Linked DNA regions of Homo sapiens: region 1 is linked to region 2. The links are contacts of gene promoters, found by promoter capture Hi-C in human tissues and cell types (Jung and others, 2019). All regions are on one chromosome and are shown on one strand. The core of a region is centred on a gene start or on the middle of the fragment in contact, and the rest is flanking DNA. Distances in the headings are between cores, read along the strand shown.

Region 1 (6,593 bases), core at 1,108-3,607, 510 kb after region 2:
TAGTCTAGACTGCAGTGAGCTGTGATTATGCCACTGCAGTCCAGCCTGGGCAACACAGTGAGACTTCATCTCAAAAAAAAAAAAAAAAAAAAAAGAAAGCCCAGCCTGGAAAACTTGTCTCACAGAATTCTTCTGTAGTGTAAGAAAGACACGTCTCCACCTATAACATCTGTCACTCTATCACAGCAGGAGGTGAAAACATAGGGAATCAGAAGAAAATATTTTCTGGTCAAGGCCAGGCGCCGTGGCTCACGCCTACAATCCCAGCACTCAGCACTTTGGGAGGCCAAGGTGGGCGGATCACCTGAGGTCGGGAGTTCAAGACCAGCCTGGCTAACATGGCGAAAACCCATCTCTACTGAAAATACAAAAAAAAAAAAAAAAAAAAAAGAAGAAGAAATTATTGTGTGGTCAAGAGAATGATGGGAAGAAGGAAGGGAGACAGGAGAAGCGATGGTGGTCCTGTTTTCTCTCTCTAAGCTTCATCCAGGAAGGAGTGTATGTTAGAAAAAGGAGGGTAGCAGCTCTGTCTCCCACTCCCCAGATAGGGGTCTGCCTCCCAGGTTGCCCCTTCCTAACCTGGGGTGCAGCCACAACCACACCAACACCAACACAGCAAGGCAGTGTGGCCAGGTGGAGAGATACTCTGAGATTTCATTTCCTAACCACCCTTGGTAACTGGAGGCAGGGGTGCTGACTTGAGAGCCACAGTATGGTCATGGGCTGGGTGAGTGACCCTCCTTAGAGTCTAGGGAACCTCTGTGAACTGGCCCAATGTACAGACTTGCATATTTGTTACTAGCAGTAGCTGAAGTGAGGTGTAGGCCTTGAAGTGAGGTGTAGGTAAATGCCCTGAGCCCTAATTGAGCCAAAAGACAGGAAAGAATACATCTTCACAGCTGTAGATTTTATCCACAAAGGCCCACAGGGAATGTTGCAAGCAGGGACATGAAGGACAATGCTCTGGACACCAGGATCTAAATAAGTCCACACATGACATTTGGTTAAGTTGTAAAGTATCTTTTATTCTACAATCTCTCTTATTTATTTGTTAAAGGGACTAGGTTGAGGCCTGGTGCAGTGGCTCATGCCTATAATCCCAGCACTCTAGGAGGCTGAGGCAGGTGGACTGCTCAAGCCCAGTAGTTTGACACCAGTCTAGACAAAATGGTGAAATCCTGTCTCTACAAAAAATAATAAAAAATTCTGCAGGAACATTGAAAAATATATATATTTAAAAAAATAAAGGTACTTGGTCGTTTGTCTTACAAAATTCCCCACATTCTGGATTTGGCTAATTCCTTCTTCATAGTGGAAATTAATTTTTTCTCTATCCCCAATATTTCCTATAAGTTGGTAGTTAGATGTAGAGGTTTGCTATTTCATAATGCTAAGATTGAACAGTGGATTCTGATGTCAGCCTGATTCAACTACGATAAATTCACCATCAACCCTTCACATATGGTTTTAGCATCTATTGGTGATGGTGAAGACCTTTAAAAAATTCATTCTAATTCTAACATTTCTTCTGCATATATTTTCTGGAATCAACTATTTGGTTACCCTAAATAGATTTTATACAGAAAAGGCAGGATAAATGCTTAATTTCTTTCCCTTGGTTGGTTTTCTCAATAATGAATTAGTGCACTTGCAACTTCCAAAGGTGACTACTGATGTTTTTTTTTTTTTAGATGGAATCTCTGTCGCCCAGGCTGGAATGCAGTGGCACACTCTAAGCTCACTGCAGCCTCCACCTCCTGGGTTCAAGCGATTTCCGTGCCTCAGCCTCCGGAGTAGCTGGGATTATAGGCGCCCGCCACCAGGCCGAACTAATTTTTGTATTTTTAGTAGAGAGGGGGTTTCACCATGTTGGCCAGACTGGTTTCAAACTCCTGACCTCAAGTGATCTCCCGCCTTGGCCTCCCAAATTGCTGGGATTACATACAGGTCTGAGCCACTGCGCCGGGGCTTTTTATTTTTAAAGTATTAGTACAAACACATGGATTTATATGTGTTTTGGATAGATTTATGTGTTCCAATCAGTTACAATCATGATCCTTTCCCACGCTCAAATCATCCCATCTTTGGCCAATGGGAGCCCCTTCATTCTGGCATCCGTGTTTTTTAAACAACCACTTGTTTCAATAGTGTCTTTGTTTTCTGACTCAGCAAGATGTCCCAAGACCATCTTGTATATTTTTTGCCCTGAAACTGGAATCAGTTATTTCTCTAAAGCGTTCAGGTTCCGGTTCATGGGAAATAGTATTCAGGAGCTACAGTCTTGGTAATCGTGGCTCATTGCTATGTTGTTTCTGGGCCTTTTCAGTGGACAAGGCTTAGAAATATGTATTTCATAGCAAGAGACAAATGATAAGTTCATATTATTGTTTCCAATTTCATTTTTTATTATGGTATAATATACATAATGAATTTTACCATTTTAATTTTACCATGTTTTTAAGTGTACAGTTTGGTGGCATTAAGTACATTCATATTACTCTGCAGCCGTCACCACTATCCATCTCCAGAACATTTTTACCTTCCCAGACTGAAACTCTGAACCCATTAAACACTAACCTCTAGCCAGGAGTGGTGGCTCATGCCTGTAATCCCAGCACTTTGGGAGGCCCAGGCGGGAGGATCGCTTGAGCTCAGGAGTTCAAAACCAGCTTGGGCAACATAGGGAGACCTTATCTCTACAAAAAATACAAAAATTAGCTGGGTGTGGTGTGCACATCTGCAGTCCCAGCTACTCCAGAGACCGAGGGGGGAGGATCACTTGAGCCTGGGAGGTTGAGGCTGCAGTGAGCCGTGATCACGCCATTGCATTACAACCTGGGTGACAAAGAGAGACCCCTATCTCAAAAAAAAACCCAGCCCCCCCAAAACACACTAATGTCCTATTCCCCACCTCCCACCCCCACCCCACTCTAACTCCCAGCAAACACCATCCTACTTCTGTATCTATGAATATTTGTTCTTTTGTGAGTGGCTAATTTCAATTTGCATCATGTCGTTTAGGTTCACACATGTTGAAACTCGTGTCAGAATTTCCTTCCTTTGTAAGGCTAAGATTGCATTGTATGTATTTACCACATTTTTGTTTATCCATCCATTGGTGGATGGACACTTGGGTTGCTTCCGCCTTTTGGTTATTGTGAATAATAATGCTGTGAATATGGACGTACAAGTATTTGTTTGAGTCCCTGCTTTAAATTATTTTGGGCATATACCCAGAAGCATAATTACTGGAACATATAGTAATTCTATATTTAATTTTTTGAGGAACTGCCGTACTGTTTTCCATAGCAGGTGTACCATCTTACATCCCACCAGCAATGAACAAGGGTTCCAGTCTCTCCACATCCTCACCAATATTTGTTATTATATTTTCTAGTTTTTAAAATTCTGTCTAAAAACAGCTATTCTAACAGAGATGAATCAATTCAAATTTAAGCTTTTAGGATTGTGGCTACACTTTAGAAATTTTTATTCTTATTTCTTTTCTCTTTTCCTTGAAAATCTTGGTTCTTAAAAACATTAATTCAAGTACTTATTTCCTAATACTATAATGTACACATAATAGTTAAAAAAAAAACAAGACCCATATTATTTCTAATAATAAGACCACTGGGCCGGGCATGGTGGCTCACGCCTGTAATCCCAGCAATTAGGGAGGCTGAGGTGAGTGGATCACCTGAGGTCAGGAGTTCGAGACCAGCCTGGCTAACATGGTGAAACCCCATCCTTACTAAAAATGCAAAAATTACCTGGGCATGGTGGCAGGCACCTGTAATCCCGGCTACTTGGGAGGCTGAGGCAGGAGGATCGCTTGAACCCAGGAGGCGGAGGTTGCAGTGAGCTGAGATCCTGCCATTGCACTCCAGCCTGGGTGACAAGAGGGAAACTCTGTCTCAAAACAAAAACAAAAACAAAAAAACCCCACTGAATTCAGTTTAAGATTTCTCTGTGGTTCTCATGGTCCCCAGAGATACACCAGTAAAGATATATAATCAAATTACTATATTTAAAAGATACTGTAAAGAATTATTTTCCCTGTGTTATTCCATCAATTTGATATACAGCTATGATTATATTCATTGTATGAATATGATTTTGTTCATCAGTGGATTACATTCATCCCTTTGTTTTCAAATGTCAGAAACTGGTTTTTAAGAATTTCATAATTTTTAAATTATTTAAAACATTTACATAGTTCACTCAAAACTATAAAACAATATAATCAGGCCAGGCATGTTGGCTCACATCTGTAATTCCAGCAATTTGGGAGGCTGAGGAGAGAGTATCACTTGAGCCCGGGAGTTTGAGACCAGCCTGGTTAACATAGCAAGACCCCATCTGTATTTCAAAAAAATAAAACAGACAAACAAGAAACTGGCACAATCAGAGAATTCTCACATTAATATCCAACGACTCTCTTCTTCTACTACCCTCTCTCCCACTGTAGGTAGCGACTAATTATCTATTAGTGTTTGGTTTATTCTTCAGTTGCCTCTTTTTAGAAAATATAAACACACAGTTATATTCATATTCCCCTCCCTTGTACACAAAATGGCAGCTTACAAGCCCTGTTCTGTGCCTCCTTTTTTCATTGAAGAATATATTCTTGTGCTTACTCAATATCATAATACTGAAATCTTCCTCATTCTTTTTCTACTTAATATTTCTCTGTGTAGGTTTATTATAAAGAAATCTTCCTGATTCCTTTGCACTGCTGCAGAATACTACACTGTGTGGGTGTATCCATAGTTTATTTAACAAGTTCACAAGTGATAGAAATCTGGTTTGTTTCCAGTATTTTGCTGTTACAAATAATACCACAAAGAATAGCATAGACCTCACTCAAGAATGCTCTGGTAAACGTTTGCCAACAAGCTCTCTGGAAAAATTAAATGAAATGAAAAACAACCCTGATTGAGCACCTTTTCATAATATTTAATGGGCATTTGGATAGCTCCTCTTCTGTGAAGCATCTGTTCAGCCTCTTCTTACTTTACTATAAGGTTGTCCATCTTATTCTTTCCTCTATGTGAGCCCTTTTCTGGACATATGTATTTCAAATACCCTTTCTCATTATTCACTGTCTTAGTGATTTCTTCTGAATTTGAAAATTTTGGCCAGGTGCGGTGGCTCACGCCTGTAATCCCAGCTACTCAGGAGGCTGAGGAAGGGGAATCACCTGAACCCAGGAGGCAGAGTTTGCAGTGAGCCGAGATCATGCCACTGCACTCTAGCCTGGTCGACAGAGCAAGACTACGTCTCAAAAAAAAAAAAAAAAGAAAAAAAAATTAACATAGTCCAATTTATGAAAAGTTTCCTTTAAGTTTGGAGCAGAGTTCTGTTTAAGAAATATTTGCAAGCCTGGGCGACATAGGGAGCCCCCGTCTCTGTAAAAACTTTTTTAAAAAAATCAGCTGGGTGTGGTGGCAGGTGCATGTAGTCCCAGCTACTCCAGAGGCTGATGTGGGAGGATCACTTGAGACTGGGAGGTTGAGGCTGCAGTGAGCCATGTTCATGCCACTGCACTCCAGCCTGGGTGACAGAACAAGACGCCATCTCAAAAAAAAAAAAAAAAATTGCTTTGGACTTCACATTAAAAGTAAAAAAAGAAAAAATAAAAAAAATAAATATTTGCTTACTCCAAAGGTATGAAGATATTATATGTTTTGTTCTAGAAGCTTTATTATTTTGCTTCTTTCATTTCAATCTAAAATCTATCTGGGATTCATTATTTTGTGTGATATGGATGAAGATTCATTTTTTTCCCTATGGATATCCAATTAATCCAGGAGCATTTATTGAAAAGATCATCCTGTCTCCTCTGCATTGCAACATGACTTTGGCATATGTATATGTGTGCGTCTGTTTCTGAACTTTCTATTTGTGTGTCTGCGTCTAGGGTTTTTGTTGTTGTTTTGTTTGTTTGTTTTTGTAGAGATGGGGTTTCACCATATTGCCCAGGCTAGTCTTGAACTTCTGAGCTCAAGCAATCTGCCCACCTTGAACTTTCTATTTTGTTTTACTGATCTATTTGTCTATCTTTCCACTAATTCTCTCTGCCTTGATTATTGTAGCTTTATATGTAGCTTTGGTATTTGATATTGTAAATCCTGGAACATTTTTTAAAGATTGTCTTGCTTATTAATCATCCTTTGAATTTCCATATAAAATTTAGATAGCTTACAGATGTACACAGAAAAACACTTTCTGAAATTTTGTTTGGGAGTGACTTGAATTTTTAGATAGCTTTAGGGGGGAACTGACATCTTTACAATATACCAGGTTCATGAATTTTGAGCCTTCTAATACATGAAGCTGGTCTATTTTTGCATTTATTTAGGTCTTTTTTAGTTTTTTTAAATAATATTTTGCAGTTTTCTACATACAGGTCTTGTGCATCTTCATTAGGTTTTTCTCTCAGTATCTAAGGTGTTTTGATATGATTGTAAATAGCATCTTTAAAAATTTTTATTTATTTATTTTTATTTAACTTTTAAGTTTAGGGGTGCATGTGCAGGTTGGTTATGTAGGTAAACTCATGTCACAGGGGTTTGTTGTACAGATTATTTTGT
Region 2 (6,472 bases), core at 245-2,744:
ATTTCGTATTTACACTTGGGTCCCATCCTCAAGATGTCTGATTTTGTATATGCAAACATTCCAAAATTTTTAAAAAAAATCCAAAACACTTTTGGTCCCAAGCATTCTGGAGAAGGGATACAAAATCTTTATTTGCAGTAGCCCAACAACTCACTGTACAAACTTATTATGAAACCAAAAGCAATCATTTCCCTTATTCCCACTTCCAGTTTCCTTCTCCATACTCAGCCGCTCCTACCCTTTCATTCAGAGAAATGGAGTTTCTCCTAACAGATTAGTAATTACTGGAAAACAAACTGGGTAAATTCAACCGACACAGCAAGCTTAGGCAGATAAAACCATGAGGAAACATTCAATGTGGTAGCAGAAACCCCAGCAAGAATAGCTAACGTGTTCTCCCAAAAGCTATCTCTTATTGCTTGGAAATACTCCTCTTTAAAGGATTAAGAATCTCTGGCTGCTTAAGAAGAAAGGGTAATGGACAACGTTTTTCGTTTCTCTGCAAAGTCACGTTATGTGTAAAGCCAACAAAAAAATGTTTCTTAAAGGATCCAAGACGAACAACAAAACACCCCAAAATTACTCTCCCAGATCAACATTAAAAGTTTAGCACTGACATTTTCAGAAGAGTAAGCAACAATGAGCCCTGCCTCTCTTCACACGCTTCCAACCTTCCCTACGCACGCACTCCCAGCTCCAGACACCTTCGCCTTTACTGCAGCGATAAAGGACAGCACACCCACCGTCGCGGGAGGAGGAGGAAGAGCCTCTTTTTCTGCAGAAGAGAAACAGTTCACATCTTGTTCCTGTTGCCTGCTTCTGAAACCTAAAAACAGAAGCAGCAGTTAACTACTACCACATAAATCCAGGGGAAACAAATGCTTTTTCTAGGCTGTTTAAGTGTCTAGAAAATTTTAAAAAGGAATAAGGAGGCGGGAGCGAGGGAATTATAAGACACAAATGGAAGCAAATATCACCAGCAAGACTCGTTCTAGGTGTCGTCTTAAAGAGGAAGATTTTTCTGGCTCAGAAGTTTGCTGCCACTAGCAGGGGGCAGGCGGGACCAAAAGGTAGGAAGGGGGTGGAGAGACAGCTGCTGCCCCCCACCCAGAAGCCAGGCAGAGATAACACCCACCGGCTACACAGATCGGGCGACCAGAGCGCGCCCTCGAGCCCGCAGGGGCGGCTCCTACCCGGCGGGTCAAGGTCTGCGAAGCCCCGGGACGGGCACGGCTCTGAACGACCTCCAGGCTGGGCCCTCGGGGGCCCTCCAGTGTGGGCTCAGCTCCCACTCACATCCCTCGGCAGCGAGGACCAGGCCTCTCCCTGCGCCGCAGCAGCCCTCAGCCCCGACGCGCGCCGCAAGCCCGGGCCGAGGGGCCCGACCGGCCGAGAAGCCGAAGTGGCGACGCGAACACCCAAGCGAGCCGGGCGCCGGCCCAGCCTGTCAGCGCCGAGGGAGGCCGTTAGCGGCGTCCGCTGCTGCCCCCTTCTGCTCCTCTTCCTCTCTCCTTCCTGCAGCCCCACACCACTCCCACTTCGGGCAGCCGGGAAGCCCGTCACAGTTGTCTCCACCCTCTCCGGGGCCACACCGTCTTCTCAACGCCGCGGGCGACACTGGCTTCGCCGCCCTGCTAGCTTCGAACTCAGCCTCCCGGTTGGCCTGCAGTCTCCCCGAATGGCAGGAGACCGGGCCGGATAGAGGCTGGGGGAGAGCCGGACGCGCGTCCTGCAGTGCGCGTGCGCCGCTCGGTGCTGGTCGCGGGACCGGCAGGCGCGGGCCACGCAGGGCAGCTGCCTCTCGGGAAGCCGGCGAGCGCGCGTGGAGATTCCTGGGACGGCCCCTGGGCGTGAGCGCGCAAGGAAGTTAAGGCGGCGGCGCCTCGCGAAACGCTGGTGCCCGGCTGGAGCTAGGCGCCAGCGCTGGGCCCGGCCCTCACTAGATGGGCGGGTGTGTGTGTGGCCGCCGCCCTCCAGGGAAGCGGCCGGGAGTGACTCACCCTGGCTGGCTCCCCAGCGCGCAGCCTGCACTGGAGGAGGCCGGGCTGCCTCCGCGCGGAGACTCCCCTCCCGCACACTTCTCCGCTTTCGGCTTTTCCTTCCACCTCCCGGGTACAGCAGACCCGTCCTTCCCCAGTCCAGGCTGCTAGGCCGAGGGGAAGTGGCGCCGGGGGCCGGGGACAACGCGCTCACACACGCTGTTTCGTGGCAATGCGCCCTCGAGAGCCTGACTCCCATCAGCCACCTTGGCTGGAAAGGGGTGAGGGTGGGATGAAGCGCCCAGCCGCCTGCGGGTTGGCAACAAGGCCTAGCGAATGTTTCTCCTAGAGGAGAAACAACTTTACCGGCGTGGCCTGGTGTAGCCCGGGAGAGGGTGGAGACAACGGCTGTGACGGGCTTCCCGGCTGCCAAAGGGCCTCATTCATTCATTCAAATATTTACTGAGTGTCTACTAGGTGCCGGGCTGTAGGTCCCCAGAGATACCAGGTGAACACGACCCCACACACTCCTTGCCCTACTGGATTGTATTCTGATGGAAGCGACAAAACAACAAACAACGCTTTAAATGCATAATGTGCGGGGTGTGTAATTGCCACTAAGAAAATGCATAGTTTTCTGCTGCCATATACATAATAACAAAGAAAAGGAGTAGAAAGTGAGGAGGGGGTGTGCTATTTTACGGTGGCCAGGAACGATTTCCTAGAATAAGTGACATTTGAGCAGAGATCTGAAGGATGAGAATGAACCAGTCCCATGACTATCTGGGAAAAGAATTTCAGGCAGAGGGACTCCTGAAGGCAAAGACCTTGAGAAGGGAAAGTGTTTGGCAAGTTCAAGGATCAGGAAAGAGGTCACTGTGGCTGGAGGACACGGAAGGAGGGGGCAGTGGTAAGAGGTGAGGCCAAAGAAGTAGCCTGGCACCAGATCGTGTAGGGATTTTTTTCAAGTATTAGCCCTCTTTCTGTCAACCTAAATGAAGTGACGCATTCATAGCTCCTGTTTCCCCATACACAACTGATGCTGCTCTTCAGGTCTGTCTTGCACTTAATGGTTTCTTTAAATAAACCTCACCAAAGCAACTCCTGCATTTCTTCTTACATAAGACCCATTGCAAAAGGTCTTTAAGCAAATGATAGCAGCATAGGAAATTACTTGAATTCACCCTGAATCTTTTAAATAATGAACTAGAGCTGTATAAGAGGGAGGGATTTACAGGAAAATTGCATTCCTACGGCTACTGCTTCATAGGTAATATATGGGCAAAGTTAGTAAGAATTTCTAATTATTAATTGTGACTCAATGGCTTAGAATATCAAGGCCGCAATTACAAACAGTGACTACCAAAAGAGTTCCTTTTTTCCTGCAAACAAAAACTGCTACTGAGGTAAAAGCTAGAACACAGACCCACATAATGAAGAAGAGCTAAAGATGAGCTTAACGTCATGGGTAAATGAAAAGCATCACAACTGTGGAAATGGAAATGTGATATTTTGTGAGGGGAAGAAAATGCTTGTTTTAGAACTCTGAAACAGTATTACTTTCATTATAAGTGATGTTTCTATATTTTGCAGTGATATACTTATGTAACTAGGCATGGTATCTCTTACTGTCCACAGCCTGTTTGCAGGGAGAAGCCATTTGAAATTGGTGAATTGCAGGGAGAAGCCATTTGGAAGTGGTGAATATTGAGGATATTTTTGTGGGGGAGCAGGTTATTTTCTTAATATTAGAGATGTGGGTATGGAAGACAAGGTGGACAAGGGGTATATTATTCATAAGCCTATAGAATTGAGAAATCTTCTGTCTCCCCACATAGAAAGATGAAGCAACTTGCCTCCTGTCATTCAGAAAGTGAAAGCCTCCCTCATCACTAAGACATGATTTTAAGTCAATGCTAACCTGGAATGTTGAGCTTTTTTCACTCTGTATTAACAGAACTTTTGAGCTCTTTATGTGATTCCTGGTAGTGGCATCACTAGAAATTTGCTACTCAAGGCAAACATTTCAGGAAATTTCCCTTATTCTTTGATAATGATGAAAAGAATTCCAAGGAATTTGACCAAGTCTTTCAAAACATTCATACAATATGAAGAAACAAGAAATATGAGCTGTAAGGTAACACATTTAGATTCAAAACTTTGTGGCAAGATCTAATGGGAAAACTTAACAGCTAGTTGTTGACTGTGGGGCTGTGTGTAGTGTCTTGAGGTTTTGTCCTTCCAGTGTTGGCCAGCATGGCAGCAGTGATTCTTGACTGCTATGCCCAAACCTTCCCCCCACCCCAACAAGACTGCCTCAGTAAGTGTGAGATGGCGCATTGGCTTCTATAACTTTTTAACATTTTTAGGTGGTTTGACATAAAGCCACGGTTGAAAATCCATGGCCAAGGGTTTAAGAACTTACGCTTTAAGAGTCCAGACCACCCAGGTTTCTTTCAATCACAGCTTTTGCCAGGAAAGTTTATTTAGATTTTCTAAGCCTCTGTTTCCTCATCAGTATAATGAGGATAATAATCTCCCCTGTAGAGAGATTTTGAAGATTAGGTGAAAAAGTATTTTAAAACCCTTAGCACAGTTATCAAATGTCTATTATATCTGTGGCAGGACCAATTTACAGATATAACCAAGCTGGGAGGTATAAGAAATTTGTTGAATTTTATTAGGAAGATTGAAGTATTTGTCACAGTTTATTGCACTACACAGGACTGTGTGGGCTGGTAGGATAAGGGCTGAGTTGTAATAGAGATAAATGTGAAGATCTCCATTTGAATTTTAAAAAACAGAACTATATCATTAAATGATGAGACTGAAAACATCATTCTTAAGGAGGGACATAAATGTGAGCACAAAAAAAGATGCAGGAAAGTCCTTGGAAAGGGAAACAGGCTCAAACGAAGGGCTGGGGAGAAGTCCAGGAGTTAGTTTGTTTCTTTCCAAAACAGGGAAGATGTACTTTCCTGAAGGCAGAAAGGAATAAAATATGGAAAGAGGCTTATTTATTCCAAATGTAGGATTATAAGCCAAAAGACAAAGGCAAGGGGTATTAATCAAGTAGACAGACAAGCAAGCAATGTTTTTTTTACTACAAATCATCCAGATATTTTAGTACCATTTATTCCAAAATTTGGTTGGCTATGGCAAAGAAATTTTCCAATACCTCCTCGGTACTTCAGCATGTCCTTGTCTCTACATCAGTTCCCTTATCCTTACTTTCAATCACAAAAAGAAAAGGAAAACAAAAAAGATATTGCCAGTGAACAGATCCCTCATTCCCTTGAGATAACTGGATGTATTAAACTTTGGTGCTTGAAAACCAAAACAGTTTTCCCTTTGTAAGCCAAGAATTAATAACCTCTTTCAAGTGAGGATAATTATTTGGCAAAATATGTAAAATGACCATTATAACTATGTGCTACTTTTAAAAAATTTAACTTAAAACTGTTAGACATATAGTTGCCTATTCACGAAAAACATTTTTTGTGTGTGTGAAAGGATTCATGCCAGCATTCACTCTTAAAAACAAAATTTCGGCCAGGCGCAGTGGCTCACACCTGTAATCCCAGCACTTTGGGAGTCCAGCGTGGGTGGATCACAAGGTCAGGAGATCAAGATCTCCTGGCTAACATGGTGAAACCCTGTCTCTACTAAAAATACAAAAAATTAGCCAGGCATGGTGGCATGTGCCTATAGTCCCAGCTACTCAGGAGGCTGCGGCAGGAGATTCACTTGAACCTGGGAGGTGGAGGTTGCAGTGAGCCGAGATCATGCTACTGCACTCCAGCCTGGGCAACAGAGCAAGACTCCCATCTCAAAAAATAAAATAAAATAAAATAAAAAATAAAAATAAATCCCTAGCATAATTGTTAGTTTACAGAGACTCAGAGACTTAATTCCTGAGTCCTAATTTAGACTAAGGATTCTGTCCTCTTTGCTGAGAACTGTCCTCTTCACCCAGAGTAGCCAGCCTCTGGCACCTACGTTCTAGTTTGTGACACCCTGCTTCCCACAACCCCTTGATTGGACCAAGCTGAGCCATCAGAGTCTCACTCCTGGGGAATTTGGAGTTGGGATTCAAAAACAGCAAATCAGACTTTTCTGTTCACTTGAAATGAGGTTACCCATGCTCTAAAGTTAAGGCTGCCACTATGAGGTTACCATCTTCATTCTTGCACAGAAAGCTGATTTGCTATAGGAGAGAAGAATGCCACAGAAGAGAAGAGAGAGAGAATGTGCGCAGTATGTGTCCCCATAGCTTTTCAGTTCCCTCTTTCTTATAAGGTCCACCAAAACTTCATGCATTTTCTATCTTGAAAATACTTCCTTATGACAAATTTCTCCTTTTGACTTAAGTTAGATCTAGTAGTGTCAGCGTACTCACAACTGAAATAACCAGGAGTAAGGGAGACATCATAGTAAGCTGATGAGAGAGAAAAATACTCTGTCAAATTACAACAGGGAAAATGTATATTTAA

What was found. Contacts are between HindIII fragments. The study calls those that stand out against the background at their distance.
Region 1: a contact is called between a fragment that was not itself captured here and the fragment with the promoter of JAK2 in region 2, in 1 of the 25 tissues and cell types used here (aorta).

Annotation. Positions count from the first base shown.
Region 1 is chr9:4,473,702-4,480,294 of GRCh38, reverse strand. It overlaps a transcript of GLIS3 not described here. Among named protein-coding and RNA genes, the nearest start is that of SLC1A1, 13 kb to the left of the region's middle. The HindIII fragment of the contact is 4,442 bases long and covers 137-4,578 here.
Region 2 is chr9:4,980,294-4,986,765 of GRCh38, reverse strand. It overlaps JAK2 (Janus kinase 2), which reads right to left and starts at 1,494. Exons shown (of 25, transcript NM_004972.4): 1 at 1,136-1,494; 2 at 744-826. RefSeq lists enhancers at 692-741, 1,542-1,681, 1,610-2,443 and silencers at 1,072-1,401, 1,792-1,871, 1,912-1,961, 3,412-3,541. The HindIII fragment of the contact is 10,820 bases long and covers 1-6,472 here.